Linked DNA regions of Homo sapiens: region 1 is linked to region 2. The links are contacts of gene promoters, found by promoter capture Hi-C in blood cells and fetal thymus (Javierre and others, 2016). All regions are on one chromosome and are shown on one strand. Each heading gives the region's core, a stretch centred on a gene start or on the middle of the fragment in contact. The rest is flanking DNA. Distances are from core to core; before and after follow the strand shown. Region 1 has its middle 21 kb from the start of PKNOX2-DT. Region 2 holds the start of SIAE (sialic acid acetylesterase).

The links. The method cuts DNA at HindIII sites, captures the fragments that hold promoters and counts their contacts. A CHiCAGO score of 5 or more calls a contact.
Region 1: a contact is called between a fragment that was not itself captured here and the fragment with the promoter of SIAE in region 2, in 2 of 17 cell types (naive CD8 T cells and total CD8 T cells). The highest score is 7.3, in naive CD8 T cells.

What each region holds. Positions count from the first base shown.
Region 1 is chr11:125,140,593-125,146,530 of GRCh38, reverse strand. No RefSeq gene overlaps it. Among named protein-coding and RNA genes, the nearest start is that of PKNOX2-DT, 21 kb to the left of the region's middle. RefSeq lists an enhancer at 4,184-4,740. The HindIII fragment of the contact is 5,881 bases long and covers 1-4,427 here.
Region 2 is chr11:124,670,390-124,676,053 of GRCh38, reverse strand. It overlaps SIAE (sialic acid acetylesterase), which reads left to right and starts at 2,315. Exons shown (of 10, transcript NM_170601.5): 1 at 2,315-2,412. The coding sequence starts at 2,346. It overlaps SPA17 (sperm autoantigenic protein 17), which reads right to left and starts at 2,150. Exons shown (of 5, transcript NM_017425.4): 1 at 2,102-2,150; 2 at 636-816. The coding sequence starts at 789. It overlaps LOC124902780 (a long non-coding RNA gene), which reads right to left and starts at 629. Exons shown (of 2, transcript XR_007062933.1): 1 at 492-629; 2 at 1-388. RefSeq lists an enhancer at 2,040-2,219 and silencers at 2,129-2,287, 2,260-2,379. The HindIII fragment of the contact is 8,074 bases long and covers 633-5,664 here.

The DNA.
Region 1 (5,938 bases), core at 238-2,737, 470 kb before region 2:
ACAGTTAACAAAACCCATTAGCAGAGAGGCAGGACTCTAAAGAGCCACACACCTGGGTAGTCAGCTCAGAATCAAAGCCTGTGGCAAGGAAATCCCTGACCTCACCCAGACCAAATTCCAGGCCTCTAATGAGAGGGGAAGGAGGACACACATTTCAAGTGCCTTAACAGATTGCTTAGTCCTAGCAGACTAAGTTGCTAGGATGAGAGGAGACCCTCAGAGAGACAGTTTCATTTGCTTGTCAATGAAAAACCAAAGACTTTTCTTTCTTTTTTCTTTTTCTTTTTCTTTTCTTTTTTTTTTTTTTTTTTTTTTTTTTTTTTTTGAGATGGAGTCTCACTCTGTCACCCAGGCTGGAGTGCAATGGCGCGATCTTGGCTCACTGCAACCTCTGCCTCCCGGGTTCAAGTGATTCTTCTGCCTCAGCCTCCCCAGTAGCTGGAATTACAGGTGCCCGCCACCACGCCCAGCAAATTTTTGTGTTTTTAGTAGAGACGGGGTTTCACCATGTTGGCCAGGCTGGTCTCGAACTCCTGACCTCAGTGATCCTCCCACCTCGGCCTCCCAAAGTGCTGGGATTACAGGCATGAGCCACTACCCCCAGCCCAAAGACTTTTTTGTCTAAGGAAAGTCTGGACAAGGATTTTTTTTTAACCGGCAGTTTTATACAGCTATCTGACAACTCTTGGTCCAGATGAAAAAAGCATGGACTCAGAGTAGCGGGGGAGACAGAGAATCTGACTGCCAACTCTCATTCTGCCACGAACTAGCAAGGATCCTCATGCCTCAGTTTCCTCTTCTGTAAAAAGACAACCTAAAACTAGATTATGAGTTCTTATGTTTCCCAAACTCCTGCTGTCATCACAAGTAATTGACTCATTCATTCATTCACCCAACAGATATTTATTGCACCCTTGCTATGAGCAGGTTCTGTAGAAATTAGAGAATCATGAGGAGACAGGGTGAGGCCTCAGTGCTGGGGAACACATAGCCATAGACAAGGCCCTACCCTCGTGGAATTTATCTTCTAATGGGGTGTTATGGATTGAATTGCACCCCCCACCAAATTCATATGTTGAAACCTTAACCACTAATGTGACTGTATTTAGAGATAAGTCTTCTTTTTTTTTTTTTTTTTTTTTAAGATGGAGTTTCACTCTTGTTGCCCAGGCTGGAGTGCAATGGCGTGATCTCGGCCCACTGCAACCTCCACCTCCCTGGTTCAAGTGACTCTCCTGTCTCAGCCTCCCGAGTAGTTGGGATTACAGGCACCCGCCACCACACCCGGCTAATTTTGTGTTTTTAGTAGAGACGGGGTTTCACCAGGTTGGCCAGCCTGGTCTCAAACTCCTGACCTCAAGTGATCTGCCTGCCTCAGCCTCCCAAAGTGCTAGGATTACAGGTGTGAGCCACCGTGTCCTGCAGAGATAGGGTCTTTAAGGAAGTAATTAAGGTTAAAGTTACAAGGGTGGGGGTCTAATCCAATAGGACTGGTGTCCTTATAAAAAGAGAAAAAAACAGAGATTCCCTCCTCCTCATTCTGCCAACCTGTGCACAAAGAGGTCATGGGAGGGCATAGGGAGAAGGCAGCCACCTACAAGCCAAACAGAGAGGCTTCCCCGGAAACCAACCTTGCTAACACGTTGATCTTGAACATCCAGCCTCCAGAACTGTAAGAAAATAAATGTCTGTTGTTTAAGCCCCGCAGTCTGTGGCATTTTGCTACATAGCTGGAGCTGACAGATACAAGGGTAAGCAGGGAAGGGCACAGTGTTATGGGAGCGCAGATTAGGGCCGCCCCACCCAGGCTACAGGGGGATGGAAGGTTTTCCAGAGAACCTGCCATCCAAATATAGACCTGAAGGGAGGATTAACAGGTGCAAACAGGAGAGAGTACTCAGGGCAGGACGCCCACATGTGTGAAGACCCTGAGGGAAGAGGAGCAAGTTCTGTCAGAGGACCTGAACACGTTTCTTTATGGATGGAGCCTGGAGGGTGAGATGAAGAGGGGGTGGAATGAGGCTGAGGAGGTCGGGGGAGCCAGCGTGGCTGACATTTCATAAGCAAACACGCTGAAGATCCCAGAGAACAAGCTGCTCCACTTTTCGACACTTCGGACTCACCCCATTGATGCTTCTGATTCTGCTGGAAAAAATGCCAACTTGGGCTCTGCAGGTTCCAAGAAGTCGTGAGCTTTTCCCTGCCACCTGATTGGCTGCATCATTCCTCAGCATCACTGCGTGTGTTCCTTGTGGAAATGCTTCGCTTGTTCATCCATAAGCTCCCTCCTTACCTTTCAAAGCCTCTTCTGGGACTGCCTCTTCTGGTGCTTGCCTTCAGTTCTATAAAATTCCTTTGCTTTTCATTAATAATTGCTAGTGTTTATTGCGTTAGTTAATACTAACCATGTCCCAGGTGTTGTTTTAGGGGCTTTATGTGTATTAGCTCTTTTAATCCTCACGACAACACTATGAAGTAGATTCTATTAATTCTAGTTTATGGATGAGGAAACTGAAGCACAGAGAGATTAAATAGTCACTTGTCCAGGGCCGCTTGGCTAACAAATGGAGGAGGCAGGATTAAAACCCAGGCAGTTGGCTGGGGGCAGTGGTGCACGCCTGTGATCCCAGCACTTTGGGAGGCCGAGACTGCCTGATCTCAGAAGTTCGAGACCATCCTGGGCAACGTGGTGAAACCTCATCTCTACCAAAATACAAAAAATTAGCCAGGCGTGGTGGTGGGTGCCTGTAGTCTCAGCTACTTGGGAGGCTGAGGCAGGAGAATCGCTTGAACCTAGAAGGTGGAGGTTACAGTGAGCCAAGATTTCACCACAGCACTCCAGCCTAGGTGACAGAGGGAGGCCCTGTCTCAAAAAAAAAAAAAAAAAAAAAAACCCGGGCAGTCTAGCTTGGGTGTCTATGCTCTTAACCACTACGCTGTGCTGTCCAAAAAAAAAAAAAAAAAGATGGAAACTGAGGCTTGGCTAGGTTCTCCTGGCTAGGTGAAGCATGGGTGCCAGGACTAGAACTGAGGTCTTCCTGATCCCATGTTCTCTGCTGTTCACACTTAGCGGGGCTGCCTCTTGAGGGAAAGGAGGAGAAGCAGATGAGTTTGAGGACCACTCAGGAGGTAGACAAGCTAGGACTATCATGAGGGTAATCAAAGAATAAGGGATACAATAGGAAGCCAAGGGCAAAGCCAGGTTTCTAGGTCAACTGTGCAGCCAAACCTTCATCATCTTCTGCCACTTTATTTTATTTATTTATTTATTTATTTTGAGATGGAGTCTCGCTCTGTCACCCAGGCTGGAGTGCAGTGGTGCAATCTCGGCTTACTGCAACCTCAGCCTCCCAGGTTCAAGCAATTCTCCTGCCTCAGCCTCCTGAGTAGCTGGGACTACAGGTGCGTGCCACCACGCCCAGCTAATTTTTATGTTTTTAGTAGAGACGAGGTTTCACCATGTTAGCCAGGATGTTCTCGAGCTCCTGACCTCGTGATCCACCCGCCTCGGCCTCCCAACGTGCTGGGATTACAGGCGTGAGCCACCGCGCCCGGCCTGCCACTTTATTCTTTATTCATTCATTCTTTCGTTCATTTGACACATACTGTGTTTCAGGTGCTGGCTGGGAAAAGCAGGAATTGGGGAGCGGGTAGACACTGAGACTGGCCATGACACTCACCAGGCCTTACTCCTTCCCCTTGTCCATGGAGCTCAAGGACTTTGCATTCTAGGGGATGGGGTTGATAAATAAATTATTACAACGTGATTATAAGTATATCAATATATCTACATCTATCTGTCTACCTATCTACCTACCATCTACCTACCTATAAAAGGAGTACAAGGAAGACAGCCCATCTCTGACTAAAGAAGTCAGGGGGAGCCTCAATCTAGAGAGGGTACCACTGGAGCCAGTGCTGAAGGTTATGATGGGAATATCCTAGGAGAGTATCGGGGATCCTGGGAGCTTCCCTGGAAAGTCTGTGACTGATGCCTGAGCTCTTCAACCAGAGTCATCAAATTCAGATATTCACTCTGAAAGGAGCCTCAGAGGCCCTCTCTATCCACAGGTGAGCCGACTGAGCAGTGCCAGGCCTGGGGTGAAGCGGAATTTCAGGAAGCACCCCGTCTCCAGCCACACAGGCGCCAACCCGCCAGCACCACCCTGCAAGCAAGGCCTCACCCTGGTCTCAGGCACAGCTCTCTCCAAGGGTCACACAGCAAAGCCAACAGTGCCATGCAAGGACCCCTGCCGCCTGCACTCCAGTCTTCTGCGTTTTGTGATTATGGAGAGCAAGGGAAAGGGAGAAGGAAAAGAAGGGGAAGAGGAGTCAAGAAATGCACCGCAGTCTCCTGTTCCTACAACAGAAAAGACAGCTCTGAAACTCTATATCCACCCACTTCAAGTTCCCGCCTTCCTCAAGCTTTATGTTCAGAAATGAGGATCTCTTCCCCACAGAGCCCTTCCCTCCCCTCTTTCTACTACGTGCTCTTCCAATTCCACACCTTTTCAACATTTATTTCAGCTGCAGATTGTCTTTCAAAAGCTGGCGGGGCGAGCCCTGCAGAGCCCACCACCGCGGCCAGAGGGTTGTAGTTCTACAGTCAGCCAGCAGGGGGCAGGCCTGCTCCGAGTCTCCGTCCTGCCCCGACCATCCCAGCCCCCCAGCCCAGTCACAACTCCTTAGAGATGCAAATTGAGAGGCAGCCTTCCTAACCCGAGAGGGCTGCTAATTCTCTGACAGTATGCAGATTTCCATCTTGCCTTTGCCTGGGTTTATTTGTTTTACTTTGCAATAAATTTAATACAGACTCCCTGAAGCAGAGAGGCAGATGGACTATAAAGTGCATTTTGAGCAGCCTTAGTTACTAGGTTAGTGTGGGTTTTGATCCCTGCTTAAATTATATCTATGAAATTTGACATGGATTTGGGTCTGGGGTTTGCTGGCTCCTTGGTGCTCTGGAGCGGCTTTTAGAGCATTTACAAGGGTTGATTTGATTATTGGGGCTTTAATTTTTCACAGAGGCTAACGAGGAGGCTGGGAAGCCCGGCCGGGGCCTGGCAGGAAGATGGAAAAGCTGGGATAAGTTGGGTTTCTACCTGCCCCAGTGTTCACGGTATCGAAATCGTTTTCTCATGTCCCTCGAGGGGCCCTAAGTCACTCTCACCAAAGAGCTGCATGCGGAAACCTGTTCTGATTCCCGGGGTAGTAGTGCAGCAAGGAGCTAGCTCAGATTCTACGAAAAAAGTCAGACGCACATATGGGACAGACATAACTAAAACATCTATAAAGAAACATTAACAAGAATGGTACAGATCAGCATTGTATAACAATGTAAATTGGATGTGAGGGGACTTGGCAGAAGGACAAAAGTCAACACACTCCTGTTAACCCCTTTGCCTTGTGCCAGAGTGTGCGGCCTCCCACTTCCCTACTTCCTTCCAGCAGATCCCTGAAGAAAGGAGGCAGAAGGAACTAGGAATGGGATGAGTTGGGTTCTTGCCCTGGCTCCACCGATTACTTCTTTGTTCAGATATTTGGTGAATATATTTAATTTCTGCAAGCTTCAGTTTCCCTCTGCACAGCTGGAATTTCATTATCATGAGGACCCAGTAAGAGATCTTCAGGAAGAATGTGTGTAGGCTGTAAAGGACCGGACCATAAAAAGTGAGTACATGGACAGATGTCATTCCCCGGTTGTGAAATGGTCATTGATGGATTAGGGTAGCAAGGCTTCAAGGCCAGAGAGGAGCTATTAATGGAATTTCCAAAGCCAGTCCATGAGGCAACATTGGTGGAATGAGTTGGGTTTCACAAACTAGCCAAGGTGTGAGACGGCCAGCTTTCTCACTGGTGGTGAGTTCTGTTCACCTGTGTGCGAAGCCTGCCTGCCAGCAGAGGACACCCTGAGAAGGTTCCAGCAGCAGCAGCAGCA
Region 2 (5,664 bases), core at 1,066-3,565:
TCAACCAAATAGTTATTGTTAGTGGGCATCTGGGTCTCTGTGCAGGATGGAATTTAGCATAAAGAATATAAATTACCTTTCCAAACTGGTATTCCACCTTTCAAATCAGTTTGTCTGTGCCGTTATTGCAGAACAGTTTCATATACCCCAGTGAATATCAGTTTATTTAAAGAGTGCAGAATTCTTTTTGCAGTACTTAAAATACTTTCAAATGGAAGGAATCAAAATTGAAAGGAAACCACAGATACTCATCTCAGGAATAACAGTCAGCTGCCAGGGATGCATAGGAACAGTATGCTGGAACGTGGCGAGGGTAGACTGTATGATCTTTTTTTCCCCCACTGATTTCTCCCGAGAAATGTATGCTCTTTTGCAGTTACCTTCCACGCTGTATGTCCGTGAGAAATACAATGAAGACGGTCTGAATAATGAACTGGTAATCTTCGATAATATGAAACGAATTTAAGAGAACATATCAAAGAGGTACATACTGTTTCAAAGAGCAAGAACTGTTATCTGAAACTCCCTGCCTCATAAAAGGCTTTCTGCAGAATGGAGATGGTCTTAAGCAAGTTTTACCATAAACAAATGCTTAGTTTCTTATTTTAAAAAATGACTAATTTTAGAAAGCTTACTCTCTCTTTTCTCTAGAAGGCTCTCAAAATAGGCTGCTGCAAAAGCTGGTATATTGTCCGGTTGCTCTCTCAGAATCTCGCGTGTCAGCCCTTCAAGAAGATTCCCAAATCCTTGTGGAATTCGGTAGTGGGTGTTGGAGAATGGAATCGACATCTTCTTGGTAAGAACTGCCTATGGAACCTAAAGATTCATTAAAGAGTACTGTCTTTAAATTTGTCTGATTTTACTTATATAATCACAACTATGCCAACAAATTATTTCTGAGACTCATACATCTGGACTTGAATTCTTTTTTCCCTAACACAACCCAAGCCCATCCATTTCTTCCAAAGAGTTTTGAAATCTCCATTGTGAATTAGTATAATACAAACACAGACCCATTCACTAGGCCAAATCATTTAAAATCCTGCAAAAAACCCATAATTTTCAATATGACTTTTTCTCTCTTTACCCTTTATATGCTCAAAAGGTAAGGGTAATTTTTGCTATCACACAGGAATTTAGAGAGAATGATTGCTAAAAAGTTAAATTCATTGTCAATTGCTGAGAAGACCTTCTTTGAGGTCTATTTTTTTTTAAAGAGTAGAAATTAGTCCTGGTTCTAGAAATTAATTTGTTGAATGAAGAAGTTGCACAATCTTTCCCCTTGCTGCCACTTCTGAAGCATGACCCACAATGCTTCGAACACCTTCGTACTGTGGAATGGGGTTGTGCGTGCGTGTGTGTGAGGGAGGGATGGGATGGGATGGGGCTGTGTGTCATGATTTTGAAATCCCAGCCTCTAAAGTTTTAGAATTCTTATATTTTTCGGTTTCTTCTTGATCAGGTTGTCTCTTTCTGTCTTGAAATACAAGGGCTAGATTAAGGGTAGCTGCTAAGCAGCGGGCTGAGCTACTACTGAGTATGAAAAGAATCCTCCGGGACCTGGCCTGTTAATGTGAGAGTGTGCGTCAATGCGGAATAGAGGCGGAGGCCGTGGTAGGGGTCCAGGTTGGGAGAACTGGACGGTTTAATGAGGCTCAGACTATGGAGGGTTCTCGTTTCATCGCTTTTTTTTTCTTTGAGAGGGGGTCTCTGGCCTCGAACTCCTGGGCTCCAGCGATGATCCCGCCTCAGCCTCCCGAGCAATTGGGATTACAGGCGCGCGCCACCACGCCTGACTCCTCTCTTTTGCTTTTTCTGAGGGAGCAGTAGATGGGGGTATCGAACCATTCTAGAGTGGTGAAAAGAGCTGGCGAGATTCTGAACCAATGTGGGCAGAGGAGGGCGGGCGGAGGGGGCAGACGGGTCTAGTCGGGGGCGGGATGTTGAGGACCTGGGATTTCAGACTCGCGCAGAATGGGCTGCCTCGGCTCCCAAACGGCCCAGGGCTCCGAGGCTGTGTCTGGGATGCTGAGAGAATAAGAGAGACGAAGGGAAAAGGCTAGGTCTTGGTATCGGAGAGGAAGTGGGGAAGCGGCCTCACCTCCTTTCTCTCCGAGCTGGTGCCGCCGGTTCCGGTTGTTTTTCTAGTTGCTGGGTAACCGTTTTTTCTTTAAAAAAAAAAAAAAACTACGGCGGCCGAGAAGGGGCGAGTACAGCCCAGTCCTGAGGTCGCGGGAGGCTGCGAGGACTGCAAAAGGGTGGAGTCGGCCTCGCCCCCGCCCAGGCCCCGCCCCTGCCGGGAACCCACTTTCCCAGTCCTAGGCGGCGGTCAGATCCTTGCAAGCATGGTCGCGCCGGGGCTTGTACTCGGGCTGGTGCTGCCATTAATCCTGTGGGCCGACAGAAGTGCAGGTGAGGCGGCCCGGCTCGGCCGGACCCCTGCCCCTCAGCCTGTGCGGGCTCCGAGACCCCGTGTCCTCTGCGGGACACGGATCCGCGCCCCTTTCTCAAGGTCGACGAAGGAACCTAGCTAGGCTAGGGGCTCGCGTCTCCGACCGAGGCCCGGTCTGCAGGAGTCTGCTGGGTTGAACCCCGGCCTCTCCACTTTCTCCACCCCCCACTTACCATCCCTGACATGCAGCCTGTGAGCAGGGAGAAAGTGCGGCTTGTCTGAGTGGGGAGGCCCAAATGTGCCCAGAAAGAGGCCTTCGGGGTCCTGGAGTAACTGCAGGGGAGCTCGGAGGGAAGGAGGCGAAGCTAGTTAGGTAATATTTGGAAACAGGTGACTGAATCTTCCAAAACATTTCAGCGCTACCCCCTCAGTGGTGCCCTTGGGGAGGGTTTGCTTCAGGCGGGGTTCCTTAGGGGAATTAAATTTTACTCGTTTAAGTGGTTATCAGGGCTAAGAAATACAACCCCCTCACTAGCTCTGACTATTTAAGGCTCAGTTTTGATTTCTGGTACCGCTTACAGATATTGGTGGTGGGAAAATGTGAGTGGCATAGGGGAGGCTGGTGGCTCCCTTTGGCTGTTGCGCAGGTCAGATCTTGCCATTCGAATACCCTAGGCTGGACACTGGGTCACAGTATGGAGAAAGCAGAAGGTGCAATCTGTCTGATAATGCAAACTAAAGTGATAATGTTGGATTTCTTCCTTTCTGTTTCAAAACACTCAAAGAGTGGACCCCAGAGATCCCTGTTAAGAAATGATAGTTGGGGTAGGAGAACAGCGTGCAGAAAAATGACTCCTGCTCTACCTGAGAGCCGGAAAAGTACCTAGATTCAGACAAACTGCAGCCCATAAATGATTGTTCAGAGTCTAACAAAAGTGCAAAATGCTAGCACTCTGTATGCCATTTCCTGACTCTTATCTCCACTCAGTGACCTTTGAGATCCATCTTATGAGGTGGGGAAAAGATATTTTATTAGGTTTTCAGTTAAAGGCTGTTTATTTTAGTGTCAGTATTTTATCTCCTCCTTTGGGTCTTATTGTTACATCACCTTCATTAACATTGATCACATTTTTCATTCATTAGTACTCTACTTGGTTGCGTATCCTGACGTTTTTCCTTTAAGTCATTCTCCCTGTGCCCATGTTTACCATGTAATGCTTGAGATGTACAAAATTATATGTAACAATGACACAATAAAATGAACACCCATGAGAGCAGTACCCAACTTAAGAACTAGAACATTGCCAGTCTATTGAGCCTGCCATTGTGCTCCTCGCCAATGCATCCGGAGCTCCTCACCAGAGGCAACCACTGCCCTCTCTTCCCCATAACACTAATTCCTGTTTTTCTACTCCAGCCCCAAATGAAGGAAAAAACTGAAGACCTAAAAAATCCAAATGTTGGCTCACACCTTTAATCCCAGCACTTTGGGAGGCTGAGGTGGGCGGATCACTTAGAGTCAGGAGTTCAAGACCAGCCTGGCCAACATGGCGAAACCCCGTCTCTACTAAAAATACAAAAAAATTGGCCAGGCGCGGTGGCTCATGCTTGTAATCCCAGCACTTTGGGAGGCCAAGGTGGGCAGATCATGAGGTCAGGAGTTCGAGACCAGCCTGGCCAACGTAGTGAAACCCCGTCTCTACTAAAGATATCAAAAAAAAAAAAAAAAAGAATTAGCCAGGTGTGGTGGCACATGCCTGTAATCTCAGCTACTCGGGAGGCTGAGGCAGGAGAACCGCTTGAACCCCAGAGGCGGAGGTTGCAGTGAGCTGAGATCGCACCACTGCACTCCAGCCTGGGTGACAGAGCAAGACTCTGTCTCAAAAAAACAAACAAACAAGAAATCAAATGGTAAATGTATGTGTCTTGTGTTTGGCACAAGGAATGACCAGCCTTGCTCTCTTTCTCATTCTCTCTCTCTTTTTTTTTGTCCATTGCACAATTCCTTGATGTTCCACTGTCTACTCTAATGAACTTAGAATTTAAACTTTACAAAGATGAGGAATATGATTTTTTCTTTGATTTGCCACAAGTATCTAATTTCGGCAAAGTGGGAATTTCAACTTTGGAATCAAGTGACTTGTTTTCTAACTTGTCATAAACTGTGTGATTTGAGACCAAAGAACATTAATGTTTGTGGTGTGTTTAGCACTGTGCCTGCCACAGGTAAAGTCTCTAGTAGAATGGAAGCTCCCTGTGGGCAAGGATTTTTGCCTGCTATTATTATTATTATTTTTTCATCGTTATATCCCCAATGCTTAAAATAGTAGGCATCAATAAATATTTGTTGAATTAACTAATGAACATGCAAGCTATTTTAAAAAATTGTTTCATCTGCTTTGGTCTCAGTTACTTGATCAGTAATATGATTATACTTCTTGATCAGTAAGTAGCGTGTTTATACTACGATTATGAAGATCCTTTCCACCTCTAAAACTCTTTAGCCCAGCACAGAGTCATCCACAAAGATGTTCACTAAGTGTATGTTGGTGAAAACAGACAGACTTGGGAAGGTATTTCCCCTAGCCTATGGACTACTGACTGCACACAAATGTGCAAGCTGCAGCCATTCCCCTACCCCCACCCTCTCTCTACTTAGCTCTTATTTATGTCTGTGGTTTTCCTTTTTTTGGTTCCATATGAAGCACCTACCCAAGACAAGGCCCTCCCACACATGTGCCTCCCCCTTCCCTCCAGCAGGCTGCCAACCTGCTTATGCAATTCTGGGGCGTTGTATTCTTTTCTTAGAGCATTTTGCTCATGGTAACCGTGCATCTCCAGCCCAGTAGGCCTTCTGGGTGATCTTTCATTGTCATGTAGGTTTCTTGATCACACTAGCTCATAAGAGAGCGCTGAGGATTTTTAGGGACTGGGCTGTTATTCCAAGAGCAGGATAAATAGGCCACGGAGCTGTGTAGGCGACTCCATTAGCTGTGCTGCCCTGTTAAGTATAGCCGAAGGGGCCCTCATCATTTGTAGCTTCCAGGGAGGAAAATGTCAGCCTTGTTAATTCTGGTTCTCTTTTCTGCCTATCATTTTTGTTTAAAATGCTTAAAAAGATCTAAATTTTGTTAATTATTTTAGGTAGTTTGGGGTCTGTTTTATTCAGATAAATTGGGATATAATTTGTTTTATTTTTTTCCTTGTTAAGTTTTGATGAGGAACACGCTGAGATAATTTGGATGGATGTTTGTATTAATAAAATACTTTTA